Linked DNA regions of Homo sapiens: region 1 is linked to region 2. Evidence: promoter capture Hi-C in human tissues and cell types (Jung and others, 2019). All regions are on one chromosome and are shown on one strand. Each heading gives the region's core, a stretch centred on a gene start or on the middle of the fragment in contact. The rest is flanking DNA. Distances are from core to core; before and after follow the strand shown.

The links. Contacts are between HindIII fragments. The study calls those that stand out against the background at their distance.
Region 1: a fragment that was not itself captured here is called in contact with the fragment with the promoter of ALDH18A1 in region 2 in 1 of the 25 tissues and cell types used here (H1 embryonic stem cells).

Annotation. Positions count from the first base shown.
Region 1 is chr10:95,431,579-95,435,618 of GRCh38, forward strand. It overlaps SORBS1 (sorbin and SH3 domain containing 1), which reads right to left. Exons shown (of 33, transcript NM_001034954.3): 5 at 3,044-3,139; 6 at 870-998. Among named protein-coding and RNA genes, the nearest start is that of SORBS1, 130 kb to the right of the region's middle. The HindIII fragment of the contact is 5,522 bases long and covers 1-4,040 here.
Region 2 is chr10:95,654,706-95,659,072 of GRCh38, forward strand. It overlaps ALDH18A1 (aldehyde dehydrogenase 18 family member A1), which reads right to left and starts at 2,006. Exons shown (of 18, transcript NM_002860.4): 1 at 1,892-2,006. RefSeq lists a silencer at 1,743-1,852. The HindIII fragment of the contact is 17,710 bases long and covers 1-4,367 here.

The sequences.
Region 1 (4,040 bases), core at 49-2,548, 220 kb before region 2:
AGTCTATTCCATGCCACCAGGCATGATACACAGCACTTCATACACTTCTTCCTCACAATAATCCTGAGGCAGATGCAATTATCAACCCCATTCTACAGTTCATCAGGGTTGAGAGACAGTGAATAACTCGACCAAAGTTGCACAGCTGACAGGTGGTGGGGACAGGGTGTGCACAGAGATCTACCCGGTTCTGAAGTCCCAGTTCTAAACCTCAATACCTCAGGTTTCCCAAGTGATGGGTTAAGGTGGGGAGATGGGCTTCATGTGGCTTCTTTGATCTCCCTTTGCTCCTAGTTTACACTGGGCCTTTGAGCTACTTTCCTGATCCTGCTCCCGCAGCTGGCTAGTGGCCAATCCCAGGCCTGAGCCCTCCCCACCTCTGCTTTTCCAGGAGCAAGATCATTGAGTCATCCACACTTCTCAGTCTCCCCTGGCTGCACCTCCAGCCCAGCCTGGACAGGTCACAGTGAACCTCTAGGAAGCAGGGATGAGCTCTGAGAAGCCCAACCTCTAGCCCATCGCACCGCTTACTTACCCCCCATGCCCTAAGCTATTTCAGTCTGCATGAGAGCAGTCTGCAGAGCACTGGCTGTGGTCACAGGATGACCTGCTCAGTCAAAGCTAACATAAAGTGTGGTTATTGCTGTGCCTTCATCTGCAGCATGTGACTGTCAGTTTGAGGCTTTGACCACTACCCATCCAAATGATTTGACTGTCCCAGGGGACCGTAAGAGACACACACACACACACACACACCCCCCCCCCCCAAGAGGTATCTGATGAACTCACACCCTCCTGAGCAAAAACACCAGAGCCTCCTCCCGCCCTTCCCACGTGGCTTTGAACAGCTTTCCCTAGCTTCCGCGCACCTGGTTTGCTTTCGTGTTGCCGGGTTTCCTGAGGGCTCGCAGGGCTACTGCTTGGGGTTTCCCTGTAGGAAGACGAGGCCCGGAGAGTCACCGCTCCCTTCCCAGTGCAGATTTTTGTAAGATCCATGTCTGAAAAGAAAAGGTCCAAAATTGAAGACTGAATCCAAGACTCCTGAAGGATTAAAGGACAGTTGGTTAGCAAATTGTTACAGCCGGGGAATGAGATGAACCTGGTTACAGCCATGCGAAGTCTTTGAACACCTGTGGTCAATGAAATTAATCTGTGGGTGGTGGAGAGGGGCAAGTTTTCAGAGGTTTACTGTGCATCATGAAGTTAGGGGAACATGGCGGCAATGGTGAGTTCTGAGTAAATGGATGAGTTATACTATCAGCTGAAAACATTTCAAAATGAAAGCAGGTTTATTCCTTTTATTAAATGAAGTTTAGGTTGATGAGCAGACTTCTGACCAGTTAGTAAGGCACAGTTCAAGAAAGAGTTTATGAAAGATGTTTCAAGCTTCCAGACCATACTTCTCATTGAAGACCAGGCTGGCAACTACGGAAGTGGGGGCGGTGGGGGGGGTGGGGGCGGGTGGTCCCATGGAGAACAACTACCCCTTTGCAGTTTTCCAGTGGGAAAAGGAAAAGCAAATCTCCTTGGATCAGCAAGTCAAGACTCCCAAAATGCTGAGACAGAAGGATATGCTGCCTGGCGAGAAAGCTCACGAGTGACAGTCTCACTTTCCAAACATAACAAAGAAAACTCACAGCAACAAAAACGACTCAGAAGGCTAAATCCTTCAATGAGCAGTGTCCACCGAGCCTCAGCTGTCTTCACAGGGTCCTGGCGTCTCCTACAGTTTCACTAGGGCCTAATAACAGACCCAGGTCAACTTTTAGAGTTTCCTTGAGAAAGATTTCAAAATACGCTTCAAAAGATCTGAATGCCATCCTGCAGGAAATCAGTCACGGAGGCAGGGAACCAGGGCAGACCACACAGTTCTGGGAGGCACACGCAGAGTGTTTCTTTATGTGCAGCTGAGCTATGCAGAACGCCACAGTTTTGTTTTGTTTTCAAATTGCTCACAGCCTAGATCCCTGACCTAAAATTGTCACAGTTAGGATTACAGGTTGACATTCAGGGTGTGTGTCTGGGCAGGATGTGAGTTCAAACATCCAGCTCATCCCCATTCCCCTCCGAGGGCAGAGAGAAGCAAAGCCTCTTCTTTCCTTTCCTTCCACGCCAGCAGCCCCCTGCCAACAACTCAGGGAGAATGATCATTAGCGTTAGACAAGAGAATGGACCTGCCTCGTCAGCACCTCTTGTATTGAACGCAATGCACGAAACGCACAATGTGTCAGGGCAAGCATCAGCCTTGGAGAGCATCTGACTTATCCAACTCTATCAAGAGGCTAAGCGACTGATGTCACCAAACTATTGGGAAAACTGGTTCATAGTCACTTCAAAAGGATGAGAGGCACACTGATGGATGCAGCCCATCCATAGGTTCCTGGACACACAGCCCAGTTACTTCTGAAAGCGCCATTGGATAAAGTACTGTGTAGGCCTCATGTGTCCCCACTTTGTACAGAAGGAAGCGATGAGCCAGAGCTGACATCTGAACTGTACTCCCCCACCCTCTGGAGGGGAGAGGCAGGAAGTGGCTGCAGGTAAAACTGGGGAAGGCAAAGGGGATGCTCTGGGATGGCCCGGTGAGCATCAGAGGCGAATCTAGGTTGGGCACCTAAGGGCAGCTGCTTCAAATTCAGCTAAGTTCAGAGGTTCTCTGTGAGACCAGGTTAATTCTCAGGGAGACTGCAGTTTTTGCTAAAGTACTGGGGGCTGGAAACCTCTAGGGAGAGCCTAGGATGTCCATGCACCGCAGACCCATCCCAAAGGGAAAGCTGAGCCTCTGGACTGACCCTTCTCCTAAAGAAAAGAGGGGCAAGGCCTCTGTCCTCAGTTCCTCCCCACATTCGCTGGCTCTCAGGAAAACGCACACAGACATTCACATACACAGAGGAAGTAAGGAAGCAAGCTGAGGAAGTGAGACGGAATGCCTCCTAAACATGCAACGATTCAGCTCAAAGTGCGTGTTAGAAGAAAAGAAGAAAGGAAAACCATGCCATGATCCGCTCACAGTTAGAGAAAATCGACCGACCCAAGGAGATACCTGTAGGGAGAACTAGGCCTGAGGCGTTTTTCACTGTCTTCACAGGAATGATTTTAACAGCAGAAATAGAGCGTGCGCGTAAAGGGTCGGCAGTTGCTGAAAACACAAAAGGGTAAATGGTGCATCCAGAAAGAACATTTGGGAAACACTCAGGCAGTTGAGGAACTGGGCAGGGACAATAGGAGGAAGTCGCCCACACAACAAGAACAATACAAAGGGCAGTAGATGCAGTAATTAAAAATAACCTGCTTTCTCTCTTTAGAGTTCTAGGCCAAGACAACAGACCCCTCCCCTCTAACTATCACCCAAATACAGCTGGTCAGTGTTGACCGGTGCCTCCTACCACACCAGGAGCTTGCCAAAGCTCTGGACAAAGATTTACAGAGGCACACAGATGGCCTGGCAAACAGAAGAAGGGGAGAGCACTCAGGGTCCACAGGGCCTCTTGGGAGAAGGCTGGGGAGTGGGTTCCGAGGAGGAGGGCTGTGGCCCATGGGCTCCAGATGAGTGGAAGAACGAAGGAACAAGATCGTGAGTTGTCTGGTCCCTTCAGCCATCAGAGCTACTTCCCCCATAGCATAACTTCCGGGGTCTTGTGCCTGCTCCGATAATTGTAGCCCTCTGGCCCCAAGCAAATCAAAGCCCCCATCTGTTAAACGGCAGATGGCCTTGCTCAAACCCACCCTTTCCTGGTCAGGAGGTGCCAAGTGTCCAAGTGCATATGTAGTCTCTGGGCAGCACCCAAGTGCACAGCCCAGGACCCCAATGCCCAGCTGAGCTAAGGCAGAGCAGGAATGCCTGCCTGGGACGTGGTGAAGGCTACCGCTCGAACATCCTGGGTGCTCAAACTTATCTATCTGCAGGGTCTCTGGGCTCCCTGCCTGCCCAGATTCTGTAATCTCATGGTAGGCACGTTCCCTAACTCTCCTCACACCGAGCCTGTTGTGAGGCCTCCCCTCGTCCTCTCTTTCAAGGGCAGCACATAAAGAGGGATGGG
Region 2 (4,367 bases), core at 756-3,255:
AGTAGGCAACAGAAAGTATTAATTGATCTTTGTTATTTCAATTTTTTCATAACACTGAAGTATGATTTTAGCACGTGATCTAAGTTTGCTGCTTATATAAATTCCTTCAATAATGGCTGCTAAACAATTATTTACATGTGAATTCTCCAAAATAACTACAGAAGAGCCAAAGGGTAAAACAATCAAATTCCAGTTCCACCTCCCTAAGAAACCTTCCCCAGCAAGGCTAGTCTTCACAGCTGGATATAATTCTATAGGTTAGCTTTTAAATAGCTCATGACTACTGCTTTTCCCATCTGGATTACAAACTTTCCATTGACAATATGGCAAAAACGATGAGGAACAAGGCCTTTGAAGTTGGTCAGATTTGGGTTCGAGCTCTGCACTTGCTGTGTGTCTTGTGGAGAGTTACCCAATTTTTCTTTATTATTATTATTATTATTATTATTATACTTTAAGTTTTAGGGTACATGTGCACAATGTGCAGGTTAGTTACATATGTAAGAGTTACCCAATTTTTCTAAGCCTCTGTTTCCTCACTTATAAATCAGGGATACTAACACTATGGACCTCATGAAATTATAGTGAGAATTAAAAGAGAGAATGCGTGGAAAGTGCTTGGGTACAACAAATGGTCAGTAAATGTCAGTTTTCCTCCTTTTGTCTTTTAGGCACTAATGATGCCTTACAATTATTTTTTCCTTAATTTCCTTCAAGACCCATCACGGGAACAAAGAATTCAACGAATATTCACTATTAGATACAATCACACACATATATTGACTGACTGTTTACCTCTCTATTAACCAAGAGTCATTGAAAGCTCTGAACACCTACGGTCACTGAAATAAGAGATTGAAGACTGACGTAGAAACCAAGCCTCCTGACCTCTCCCCTGTACCACCATCTCTGACTGACCAGGCAGAGTGTATTACGCCCTCGAGAAGCACACAGTTGATCCCAAGGAGCAAAGAGAGTGTGTGTGTGTGTGTGTGTGTGTGTGTATCTAGACTCGTGTCTAGATTTGTGTGACTGTGTCTCGACTCTGTGTGTGTGTTTAGACTCCATATCATCAGTTGAAGAAAGTTTTCACGTTTTGACTCAAGACATTTCTCAATATCTCTTTACAGACTAAACAGAATGCCCTTATCTAACTGATTTGAACAGAGAAGTGAACCTCAGTCCCAGCACAGTTCACCCACAAACACATGCTCGGTATATGGCTCACCACTTAAATACAAAGATCCGATGGGCCTCACCACCTCAGAGGGCAGGGGATAATGATGGGGGAAGGACGAGGTGGGGTATGTGGGTGCGTCCTGCTGTAACAGGAAGACCCCAGCATACACAGAATGCCATACTGCAAAGGGAGTCTGGCTTTGAGGAGGGGATGATGAACGCCTGGAGGGCCGCGGGGAACTAGGGACCCAGGCCCCTGAGAGTCAGCGTGCGGCCAGCTAAAACCCGCGGCATCCCGGCGCTGCCACCACCGCCACCCACGCCACCCACCAGTGCAGGCTCCATACTCTTGGAAAGAAGGGGCCCGCGGATGCCTGAAGTCTCCACTTGGCCCAGTTCCTTACATGGTGTACCCAGGGGAGGCCGGGGAGGTCAGGGCCCGTAGCCATCCGTAGATCCCGGGGCGGCCGCGCACCGGCATATGGGAGCGCGCCACGGTCTTGCAGCGCGCCCTGGGCGGCCCGATGCAGCCGCCATCCCTCGGCCGAGGCCCACACCTACCCATGGGCCAGATCCCCGGGCCCCGGCACCTGCTCCGGCAGCGTCCCCGCTCCAGCGGCCCGGCGCTCACGCCCCTCGCGCTTGAGCCTGGGCGCGCAACAGCTTCCGCAGAGACGCGGGCGCCTAGCCATCCCCGCCGCTCGCCGCGTACCTTCCTCACCACCGCCGCCTTCGCCCCCTGGCACTACCGCGGGTCCGCACTCCACGCCGGGCTGATTCCGGCGCTCGCTCACTCTCTTTTTTCTTCCGTCCACGTCCCGCACGATGACGTTACGTCAGTGGCGTAAGAGTAAACCTGGGCAGCCGGCCCTACGCTGTTGACGTGGGGCGAGGGCCTGTCCTGGAGCTGCGGCGCGGCAATGGCGTAGGCCCCTTTCGAGAATCAAGCCAGCGCTCCACGTGGCGGGCCAGCCCACCAGGCCCCGGCAGCCTGGAAGAGGCGGGACTCGAGTTCAGGGGGAACGCCCACGTCCCGGGAGGGGACAGGGGCCGGAGACAGGGGCGAAGACACCTTCGAAACGCCGCCCCACTGGGCCTTCCAGGGAGGTAGAAGAGGTGCCTGGCACCCTCAGCTGCTGGTAGATTTCATAAGGTGTGTTTGTCAATGTTAACCATTTATATCCCGGGCACACCTCGGAAATAGGTTGGATCAACTTACATATGTTTGTTACTTCAGGCACATCCTGGGAATAGATTGGATCAGTTTACACACATTTGCAAACTTTGGCTCCTTAAATGGAAGCATTTTGGCACTGCAATCAAATTACTTGCCCCCTAGTCATCTGGAGGTTTCCCCAATGGTCCCATCTCAACTCCCTTTCATCAAAGGCAGTTGTAAGAATATTGCATTTTAAAATAGGATATTCAATCTATGACAACTAGAACTATTCCAAAGGTGAATGCAGACTCACCTTTAAAGAGAGACCACAAAAACCTGGCACTGTGGTGTGTGCCTGTAGTCCCAGCTACTCGTAGGTGGAGGCAGGAGAACCACCTGAGCCCAGGAGTTCAAATCCAGCCTGGACAACACAGCAAGACCCCACCTCTTAAAAAGAAAAAGAAAAAAAGTGAAAACACAGATTTTTCTCCCTCTTTCCTTGCTGTATTTTGCTCAAAGGACACATTCCTGCATAGGCACATAGTGCTGGGTGGTGGGAGGGCAGCACTTGATAGGAGGTTGGGCACAGAAAGGCATCATGCCCTTCTGTCGTCCCTGATAACACTACTAAGCCTATTTATTCATTTTCTTGTTTATTAAACACTGGCTACTGCTATGGTCTGAATATGTCCCCCAAAATTCATATGTTGGAAACTTAATTCCCAATGCAAGAATATTGGGAGGTGGGGCCTAATGGGAGGCATTTGGGTCAAGAGTGCTCCACCTTTATGAATAGAGTGACCCTCATGAATAGATTAATGCTGCTATCAAAAGGTTTGTGGAGGTGGGTGTTCTCTTCTGCTCTTCTGCCCTTCCACCACGTGAGGATACAGCAAGAAAGCCCTCACCAGATGCTGGCACCTTGATCTTGGACTTCCTAGCCTCTAGAACTGTGAGAAATAAATTTCTATTATTTAAAAATTATCCAGTCTGTGTTATTGTGTTTTAGCAGCACAAAATGGACTGAGACAGCCAAGCATTCCCTGGGTGTGGAAGAAGACATAGCTGAGTTCACAGCCTTATGGAAGAGAGAGATATATGAGCAAATAATTACAATACCATGTGATGAATACTAAAGAATGGGATGGCCAGACATTCAGGGATGGCTGAAATGGTTTGACTTTGTGTCCCCACCCAAATCTCACCTTGAATTGTAATTCCCATAATCCCCACCTATGGAGGGTGGGACCTGATGGGAGGTGATTGGATCATGGGACTGTTTCCCCCATGCTGTTCTTGTGATAGTGAGTTCTTATGAGATCTGGTGGTTTTATAAGGGACTCTTCCCCCTTCACTGGTTTGCTTTCTCCTGCCTGCCACCATGTAAGACTTGCCTCTTCCCCTTCCACCATGATTGTAAGTTTCCTGAAACCTCCCCAGCCATGTGAAACTGTGAATCATCTAAATCTCTTTTCTTTATAAATTACCCAGTCTTGGGTATGTCTTTGTAACAGTGTGAAAACAGACTAATACAATGGCTTTAAAAAGAGTTGATATTCAAATTGTGCTTTGAAGCACTAGAAGTAAGGAGTTTACCTAAAAGAGGAGAGGAGTACAGGATCATATGAGGAAGAGGGAATAAGGGAATGATATATGCAGAGGTGTGAGACACCCCGTGAAAAGAGGCTACTTGCAGTAGGACATGACAGGAGAGGGGTCTGGCTGGTATCCTAAACTTACAAAGGGTTTTTTGTGGTATGCTAAAGATTTTGAATTTTATAATCCTTAAAAACAGAGAAACATGACTTTTTAAGTGCTGGAATGGTATGATCCGATTTTTGTGCCAGAAATCAGTAAAGACGCCTAGAGCTGGAATGTTGGTTAGCCTATTGCAAAGGCCCAGGTAAGAAATGGTGGCCCAAAAAAGGCTCCAGCAGAGGAATGGGGAACAAAAAGGAGGGAGAGCTGACAGCACTTATTCAAAGTGGGAGAGTGAGAGAAGAAGAGCAGTGCTTGGGAATCTGATGGT